Regions from separate parts of the Homo sapiens genome. Here all the other regions are linked to region 2. The links are contacts of gene promoters, found by promoter capture Hi-C in blood cells and fetal thymus (Javierre and others, 2016). All regions are on one chromosome and are shown on one strand. Each heading gives the region's core, a stretch centred on a gene start or on the middle of the fragment in contact. The rest is flanking DNA. Distances are from core to core; before and after follow the strand shown. Region 1 overlaps CTNND1 (catenin delta 1). Region 2 holds the start of RTN4RL2 (reticulon 4 receptor like 2). Region 3 overlaps CTNND1 (catenin delta 1).

Region 1 (3,232 bases), core at 338-2,837, 350 kb before region 2:
TAAGCATGAGACACTACACTCAGCCTAGAAAAGTCTTTTCAGTATTGGGAAGTTACCAGGCTCACAGTGGCAAATAAAAGTTTTTCAAAACTACAATTTCCACTTGAAAGCTCAGGCAGCAAACACTGTGTTATTTTCCTCAAAGCAACAAGCTTATCGCATTCGTTTTTGAGAAAATGTCTGCCAAATGCGCACATCTGAATAATCCCTTTGTCTACCACACATTTTTTTCCAAGTAAAAACAGTGTTCCATTAAACAAAGTGGCTAGTGTGGCTGAGCGCCGGATGTAATCCTAACACTTGGCCAAGGCAGGAGGATCGCTTGACCCCAGGAGTTCAAGACCAGCCTGGGTAACATAGGGAGACCCCATCTCAAAATAAATAAATAAACAATTAAAAAGTGGCTAGTCTAACTAGTAACTGAAACAATAACACAAGTACATTTCCTTAAGACAACCATCATGCTTTAATATGCTATTTCATCAGCACAGAATATTAAAAAGATGTATACTCAAGGGTAGAAAAACAATAAAAGTGATTTTTTTTTTCTTTTGATACGGAGTCTCAACTCTGTCGCCCTGGCTGGAATGCAGTGGTGCAATCTCGGCTCACTGCAACCTCCGCCTCCTGGGTTCAAGCGATTCTCCTGCCTCAGCCTCCTGAGTAGCTGGGAATACAGGCGTCTGCCACCACACCCAGCTAATTTTTGTATTTTTAGTAGAGACGGGGTTTCACCATGTTGGCCAGGCTGATCTTGAACTCCTGACCTCAGGTGATCTGCCCGCCTCAGCCTCCCAAAGTGCTAGGATTACAGGCATGAGCTACCACACCTGGCCTGATGTTTTTTCTTCTCCAGTTAAGTGAAAATGGCTCTCTGCTTTTACCTATGTGAGTGGCAATGAAGACTACAATGACTCATTCAGCTTTATGTCACTGCCCTGGTTTGTGCTAAGCCACCAGCAAGAAGCATCACTGCTTTCTGTGCCATCAGTACAAATTGTAACAATCTTGGGACTCTCAGACCACACTTTAAGAACCAATAATCAAGGAAAAAGCCAAGTGTGATTAAGATAATAATGGTCACAATATACACTTTATGTGAAAAAGAAAAAATTTACAAAACAAAATATATAATTCATCTCAGAGGAAAAATGTGTTTACTCACATGATAAAAATGTTTTAAAAGATACAAGTGGTTTTCTCTGGATAAAAGAAACAAGTGATTTTTTGTTATTTTTCTGATTGTTTATATTTTGTAATTTTAAAATAGTAACTATTACAATATTAAGTATTAAATGGAAATTTAAAAGGAGAAAAAATAGACAAAACAGACTAGAGTTCACTTTCCAGTGTTTTAAGTTCACAAGCAATGATAAAGGAATCACATTCAGGCTAATTACCTGTTTTGTTTTGATTTCTAATGCTTAAGACCTACCCATTTCTGCGTTAGGATCCTGGAGTGGAAAATTATTCCCCTCCCACAAAAGGCTAGCTAATTCAGAAATAATATATATCCTATTTCTTAGTAAGCCACCTAGAACAGCAAGAGTGGCTAAAAGGAGAGGGTGTGCCTTCTGGATACTGCACCTGATTTTTGGTTCCGGTCAATGAGAGGGAGAGTACTATCATCATATGAATGACTGCTCTGGCTTCGGGAAGCATTGTTTAGATTCACCTAGAGGCAAACACAAATGCGACAATGTGACAGAATACTGAATTCACCCTATCTTATGCTCTAATGGGCATAAACCTCTAGGTTCCTATTCCCAAATAGAATCATGAAAAAGCAACTTATAAGAGTTGAATAAATACCCTAGACAGTGAGACAAACTAGGATATTATGGCTTCTATTTGTGTTCCAGAACAGGAGATTACAAAGGATCCAAATATTGACACTATCAGAAGAAAATACAGTTTCAGAGAATAGTAAAAATTCCCTCAAAGGGCTACGGTAGATTTGGGCAAAAGTCAAAAAGGCCATCATCCTTCATCATCACCTGCACCTAAAGTATGTTATGACATAGAGGGATACCTGAGCTGTGTCGGCAACAAATGAATTGTAGACACATCATCCTTTTGAGGAGTAAACCAAATCTTTTTTTTTTTCTTTTTTTTTTGAGACAGGGTTTAGCTATGTTGCCCAGGCTGGAGTGCAGCAGTGTGATGTCGGCTCACTGCAACCTCTACCTCCTGGGCTCAAGCAATCCTCCCACCTCAGCCTCCTGAGTTGCTCGGACTACTGGCAAACAACACCACGCCTGGCTACTTTTATTTTTATTTTTGGTAGAGATGGGTTTCGCCATGTTTCCCAGGCTGGTCTCACACTCCTAGGCTCAGGCAATCCACCTGCCTCAGCCTCCCAAAGTGTTGGAATTACAGGTGTGAGCCACCACACCTGGCCAAATAATTCCTAATTAAGAAATATGGGTCAAAAATAGATTTAACATGAGGCCAGGTGTGATGGCTCATGCCTGTAATCCTAGCACTTTGGGAGGCCGAGGCAGGTTGCCTAAGCTCAGAGTTCAAGATTAACCTGGCCAACATGGTGAAACCTCATCTCTGCTAAAAATATAAAAAATTAGCTGGGCATGGTGGCATGTGCCTGTAGTCCCAGCTACTGGGGAGGCTGAGGCACAAGAATCACTTGAACCCGGGAGGCAGAGGTTGCAGTGAGCCGAGATTGCGCCACTTCACTCTAGCCTGGGCAACAGAGTGAGACTCTGTCTCCGAAAAAGAAAAAAAAAATAGGTTTAGCATGATGGTGAAATGGAAGAAACGAAAGAAAACAGAAGCATTATCCTGGGACCAAGAAAAAAAAAGTAAAAGTCTTGGTCTCAAAAGTTACTATACCTGAAAGTCTGATTTCTTCCATCCTTCTTTTTCCAGTGGCTTCCGCAGTTCCTTATATCCCCAGATTGTCTGTAATACAAGTGCTGCTGCTCGAACTTCTTTTTCTGAGCGGTTCCTTTGGAGGAAAGTAACACCATACGGAATTTGGATATAAAATCAGGAAAAAAGCTTAGACCCTATATCCTCTAATAACATAAGAATATAAATGCCAGGGGCAGGGCACAGTGGCTCCTGCCTGTAATCCCAGCACTTTGGGAGGCTGAGGCAGGTGGATCACCTGAGGTCAGGAGATGGAGACCATCTTGGCTAACACGGTGAAACCCCATCTCCACTAAAAGTACAAAAAATTAGCTGGGCATGGTGGCACGCACCTGTAGTCCCA
Region 2 (3,033 bases), core at 337-2,836:
GAGGCTGTCACTCCCCTTCCAAAGTCCTCACCCTCTGTCCCTCACAGCCACCCCCAGGGCCCTGAGCTCAAAGCACCCCCCATCTGGCCCACCAGCCACTCCCTGAGAGAAGAAATGTGGCAGGCAGGCGCTTTGGGAATGGAGGGCTTCCCACGTGGAAGTGGTTACCAGAAGCCTCTTTGTCTCATCCCTGGGCAGCACCCCCAATCCCCAGTCCCTCTCTCTCAGCCTTTCTCTTCCTCCTCCTCTTCCCTCCTCTCCAGCCCCTCTCCCATCCATGGTTCCCTGTCTCCAACCCTCTTCGCCGGTTCCTGATACCCCTTCTCTAGTCACCATCCCCATCCTTCTCTGGTTTCTGATCTTTCCATTCTCCTTTTCCATTCCAGTCCCCAGGGTCCCAGTCCTGATTCTCTTTCCCGCTACCTCCATCCCAGGATTCTGGGTCCCTGTCCATAGTCTTCTTCCCATCCCTCCCCTGATCTGGTCTTTCCTCTCCTTCCCTCTTCCTTGGTCTTCACCTGGGTCCCACTTCCCTCCACGCTTTTCCCATCTAACCTTTATTCCTTCTCCCCCTCCCCCGCTCCATCTCCCTCCTCCTTTGAGCTTCCCTCACCACTTTCTCCATCTTTGAGTTCTCCTTCCTATCCCTCTCCCCCTGACCCCTCCCCACCCCACCCCCAGTCTCTGGCCCACACCCTTATCTGTCACTCAATCAGTAGAACTATCCTCTTTCTAGCGCCCTCCATCTCTCCTACCAGAGAGGGCCACTTGGATTTCCCTCTGCGCCTCCTACCTCCCCAGACAGCCCCCTACCCACATCTCCTGTCTTCCCAGGTGGCCAGAAAGTGCTGAGGCACCGGGCAGGAGGAGTTGCTGAGTCGGCGCTTCCCCAGCCGGCCCGAGTCCTCAGCGTCCCCCGGAGCAGGTGGAGCGGGGACAGCGGAACCTGAGCCTCCCTCCCCGCTCCGGGCCGGGTCCACCTGCCCCCTGCGTCCCACCTCGGTCACGAGCTCCTCGCACGCGCCCGCGGGCTCCCAGCCAAGTGCCCTCCTGCTGAGAACAGCCCTGGCGGCGGGGGCGCGGCCCCAGCGCTGAGCTTTTCCCCTTCCCCAGGTTACCCCACCTCCCCAACTGCCCCACCCTCAATCCCTGAAAGAGGGGACGCCCTGCTTCTCTCCCCAGGATGCCCTCCGCTCTCCCGCCGCTGGCGTTCTTACCTTGCAGCAGGCGCCTGAGCCCGGGCAGCATCTTGTCTCGATGCTCGGGGGAGGGGGCAGCGGGGGGAGGGCGCTCCCACTCGCTCCCTGAGCCCGCCGGATGCACGGCGGGGACCCCGCGGGGCTCCGGGAGGGCCCGGGAGTCCCCGGGCTGCGTGGCCGGGCCGCGGCGCTCTACCCTGCGCCGCCCGGGCTGCGGGCCTCGGGAGGAGCCATCGGCCCCGACGGGACGGGGCGGGGCGCGACGGGGCGGGGAAGGCTGGGGCTGGCCGTCGACGCCCAGCGCCCGCGCCCCGCTAGCTGCGCTGTCCGCTCGAGAGTCCGTCAGTCCGTCTGTCCGTGTGCCCAGGCTGCTAGCCGAGGGAGAGTGGGGACAGCGAGGAAGCTCTTCCCAACCACCCCCACTCCTTCCCGCACTCGCTGGCTCCTCCCTCGTTTGCTGGCTTGCCGACTTAACCCTTTCTCGACCACTAGGAGGCGGGAGCGGCTTTCTAACCCCCTCCACCCCGCCCCCCTCCCCCCCGCTTAAGCGACCCGGAGGACTGTGTTCGATCGTCCTCGCGGCGCCACTCTTCTAGAGAAATCCCTTCTTGGGGGAATGCGGTAGTTTAGAGGAACGCCGTGGACTTGTCCTGTTCCCCCCTCCCAACTTTCCAGGAGAAGATGAGCTTCTGGGTCACCCCCTCCCCCGCCCCCAGCCGCGTCCCTCGCGCCAGTGTCCCAGCCTCCAGCATTTCTGTCCCCTGGGACAGCTCCAAGATTCCACTTTTCCTTCCACTCCCAGACCTCAAGCCCAGTGTGCGACTATAAGAATAGTATATGCAAGAGTTTGTGCGTGCAAGATCGAGTGCATATGAGCGTGCACGTGCGCGCAAGGATGCTTGTGCAGGTGTGACTCAGGATGCTTGCCCGTTACCCTTTGTACGGGCTTGGGGAAGCGGGGGGGGGGGCACGTGAGTGTGCACACGGGTGAGCCGCTGAAAGTCCGCCAGCGTGCATGTCTGAGCTGGTGGGAAACGTGAGGCTGTGCGAGGTTTTGCGCTTGCGATCTTGGGGATGGGTGGAAAGAAATATGTGCCCGGTGTGTGTATGCCCCTTAGTGCATTTACAAGCGGGTGCGAGATGGGCGCGCGTGCGAGTGTGTGCGTTTTTTTGTGTATGTATGATGTGTCCGGGAGGGGAGACCTTATCTCCCGCGGGGGTGCAGGAGAGGACCCAAAGCTGGGGAGAAGACTGTTGGCTTCGCGTGAACTTCCTCTACCCCCTTTTAAAGAGGGGCGGATTATGGTCTCACTGGAGCCCCTCTGGCCCTTCATGGCCTGGTCACAGGCGGTATCAGCAGACCCATCACCTAGGCACTTCCCTACAAAGGCTGCAGGGCGGTTGACCCAGGTCTTGACTCGGCCCGGCGCGTCCGCGGAGCCGCCCCGGCGTAGGATAGGCTCGGGGCCCTCGGGGGAGCCGCTTCGGGTACGGTGGCCAGGCAGCGCTGGCGGGGTTGGGGCTGCTGGAGCCTCAGGTGCGGCGGTGCCGGGGCTGCTGAGCCCCCTGGGCTGCCGCTCCCGCGAGCACAGAAGCCCCTCGCCCCGCTGCCCGCGCCGCGGCTCCTCCTTTCCTATCCGTGCCAGGGTCCAATGCAGTGCCTGGCATACAGTCGGCTCTTGATAAATGTTGGTCTTATTCTTCCCATTCATTCTCTGCTCCCTCCACGGTCTCTCGTTCTTCTCGCGTTCTCATTCGATTTCTCTGGTTTTCTCCCCCGACTCTTACTCATATTTCGTGGTCTCTGTCTCTCTGTTCCCTCCCTCCCTCACTC
Region 3 (2,899 bases), core at 273-2,772, 320 kb before region 2:
AATTAGCCGGGCATGTTGGCACACACCTGTAATCCCAGCTATTCAGGAGGCTGAGGCAGGAGAATCACTTGAACTCAAGAGACAAAAGTTTCAGTGTGCCGAGATTGTGCCACTGCACTCCAGCCTGGATGACAGAGTAAGACTCTGTCTCAAAAACAACAACAACAAAACGAGTGTCACAAATTTATGCTCTCCATCTAAAAACAATGACAGGCAAAACTCCATTTCCATGTCGTTCTAGGGAATTTTTTTTTTTTTTTTTTGAGACAGGATCTAGCTCTTGTCGCCCTGGCTAGAGTGCAGTGGTGTGATCACAGCTCACTACAGCATGGACCTCGTGGGCTCAAGCAATCCTCTTGCCTTGGCCTCCCAAAGTGCAGGGATTACTGGCATGAGCCACTGTGCCCAGCCATTCTAGGGAATGCAAAGGGCTTTTTTCAAAAGCACACTGGGCTGGGCAAAGTGGCTCACACCTGTAATCCCAGCACTTTGGGAGGCCAAGGTGGGCAGATCACTTGAGCCCAGGAGTTTAAAGATCAGCCTGGGCAACATGGCAAAACCCCACCTCTACAAAAAAATTACAAAAATTAACTGGGCATGGTGGTGCACACTGTAGTCCCAGCTACTCAGGAGGCTGAGGTGGGAGAATTGCTTGAGTCTAGGAGGTCCAGACCACAGTGAGCCACAATCACTACATTGCCACCTGGGCGACAGAGTAAGACCCTGTCTCAAAAATAAATACGTAAATAAATAAATAAATAGCATACCAAGCCTCCTACTGCAGAATACTAATCAACAAAATATAGCACCTGTAACACTACAGAACTGTATTACATAACATTCAAGCCAGAAAGGGGCCCTTCAGATACCTAAAAGGCATTTATTTGCCTTAACTGGCACCTGACCCCAAATTTGAAGAAATATTCCGGTTCAACCACAAACAAACTTGCCATTTTGTTTCTAAATCAAAGAAATATATTTTGTCAAGATTTTCTATGGCTTTTTTTTTATTTTGAGATGGAGTCTCGCTCTGTCACCCAGGATGGAGTGCAGTGGCGCGATCTCGGCTCACTGCAAGCTCCGCCTCCCGGGTTCACAGCATTCTCCTGCCTCAGCCTCCCCAGTAGCTGGGACCACAGGCGCCCGCCAACACGCCCGGCTAATTTTTTGTATTTTTAGTAGAGACGGGGTTTCACCGTGTTAGCCAGGATGGTCTCGATCTCCTGACCTCGTGATCCACCCGCCGCGGCCTTCCAAAGTGCTGGGATTACAGGCGTGAGCCCGGCCTTTCTATGGCTTCTTATCAGTGCTTATACCAGAGTCCAAAGTCTAAGTACCCCGCCCTACCTCCACTTGATGTTCCACGTTTTTTTTTGTTTGTTTGTTTGTTTTTGAGATGGAGTCTTGCTCTGTCGCCCAGATGCAATGCCGTCATCTCGGCTCACTGCAACCTCCACCTCCCAGGTTCAAGCAATTCTCCTGCTTCAGCCTCCCAAGTAGCTGGGACTATAGGCATGTGCCACTATGCCTGGCTAATTTTTGTATTTTTAGTAGAGACACGGTTTCACCACGTTGGCCAGGCTGGTCTTGAACTCCCGACCTCAAGTGACCCACCAGCCTTGGCCTCCCAAAGTGCTGGGATTACAGGCGTGAGCCACCATGCCCAACCATGTTCCACCTTCATGCTCAGTCAGAACAGTTCTAGTATTTCTCACTTCACTGGGAAGACTCATCTTCTGTTAATTCCAAGTCCCTGAAGCTGATTTGCGTTAAGATTAAAAGGACTGTGCTCACTTCACAATCTCAACTGAGCACTACTCAAGTCACAAAACCTGTATTATTCTGGATATGGCCTTCTCCTAGTGTTCACTCTTTCTATGCTTCCTCATGGATCTGCTTCCTGCTAGGCCCAACTTCTCCATTTAGAAGTGTTAAATCAAGTTTAGCCTAGGCAAGTTTATGCCTCCTTACATCTTTTAAGTTTGGCCTAAAGATTTATCTGTACATAATGAACTATAACCTAAATGGTGGTAGAAATAGACTGTAACCTACTCTTGTGCCAATCACTGAGTTTTGGCCACTCAAAGGGGGCCAACTGTTCCAGCTGAGCCATAACCAATCCAGCTGTTTCTGTACCTCACTTCCATTTTTTGTTCATCACTTTCCTTTTTCTGTCCATAAATCTTCTACCACGTCTGCACTGGAGTCTCTGAGCCTACTGTGGCTCAGAAGGCTCCCCAATTAGTGAACTGTTCTTTGTTCAATTAAACACTGTTAAATTTAATTTAGTTAAGGATTTTATTTTAAAAGAGGGTAAAAGGCTGACCAAAGAAGTCTTATTTTCATGAGGAAAAACTAGGTGTCCACCAGGAATCTCTCTGATGAATTAAGGAAGGCTCTGGGCAGACCACCCTCCTCTTAGGAAAGAGTGATACATTCTCTCTGATTGGAACGTCAGAGAAAAGAATTTTTTAAAAAACAAAGATATAAACAAGATAATACTCCTTGTTAAAAGGAATTTGAGCTGGCAACCTCTATACATCAACAGGGTACCTTAAACTCCCTTTAGTCTTATAATCCTTACCCAAAGCTACCTGTCAATATTTAAAGTTTTTACTGCAACTTAAAAAAAAAAAAATCACCTCCACCATCATGACCTCCTAAATTCTGAGACCAAATAAAACATTCTTCTTTTTCTCTCTTTTCCCCTCCCAAGTATTCTGAGAACCCCCTCTAAACCATAACATACTAAAATGGCTTAGTGCTGGGCTGGCTTTGAAGCCAAGGAAGGGTGTGGCTCTCAGCTAGTGAGGGGGCCCAGGACTGAAAGGGTACAGAAAGAAAAAAACCTGCTTCTCTGTGGAGCATGCATGACGCACACACAGGACTGGTCTAACAA

Evidence for each region. The method cuts DNA at HindIII sites, captures the fragments that hold promoters and counts their contacts. A CHiCAGO score of 5 or more calls a contact.
Region 1: a contact is called between a fragment that was not itself captured here and the fragment with the promoter of RTN4RL2 in region 2, in 1 of 17 cell types (neutrophils). The highest score is 5.4, in neutrophils.
Region 3: a fragment that was not itself captured here is called in contact with the fragment with the promoter of RTN4RL2 in region 2 in 3 of 17 cell types (activated CD4 T cells, M0 macrophages and neutrophils); the score reaches 7.6 in activated CD4 T cells.

The regions. Positions count from the first base shown.
Region 1 is chr11:57,809,842-57,813,073 of GRCh38, reverse strand. It overlaps CTNND1 (catenin delta 1), which reads right to left. Exons shown (of 21, transcript NM_001085458.2): 16 at 2,851-2,965; 17 at 1,588-1,675. It overlaps TMX2-CTNND1 (TMX2-CTNND1 readthrough (NMD candidate)), which reads right to left. Exons shown (of 21, transcript NR_037646.1): 17 at 2,851-2,965; 18 at 1,588-1,675. Among named protein-coding and RNA genes, the nearest start is that of CTNND1, 50 kb to the right of the region's middle. The HindIII fragment of the contact is 2,866 bases long and covers 155-3,020 here.
Region 2 is chr11:57,459,081-57,462,113 of GRCh38, reverse strand. It overlaps RTN4RL2 (reticulon 4 receptor like 2), which reads right to left and starts at 1,586. Exons shown (of 3, transcript NM_178570.3): 1 at 1,218-1,586. The coding sequence starts at 1,248. RefSeq lists silencers at 1,310-1,579, 2,679-2,738. The HindIII fragment of the contact is 14,932 bases long and covers 1-3,033 here.
Region 3 is chr11:57,781,774-57,784,672 of GRCh38, reverse strand. The region is part of intron 1 of CTNND1 (catenin delta 1); the gene reads right to left. All of the region lies in intron 2 of TMX2-CTNND1 (TMX2-CTNND1 readthrough (NMD candidate)), which reads right to left. Among named protein-coding and RNA genes, the nearest start is that of CTNND1, 21 kb to the right of the region's middle. RefSeq lists an enhancer at 1-417. The HindIII fragment of the contact is 3,687 bases long and covers 1-2,899 here.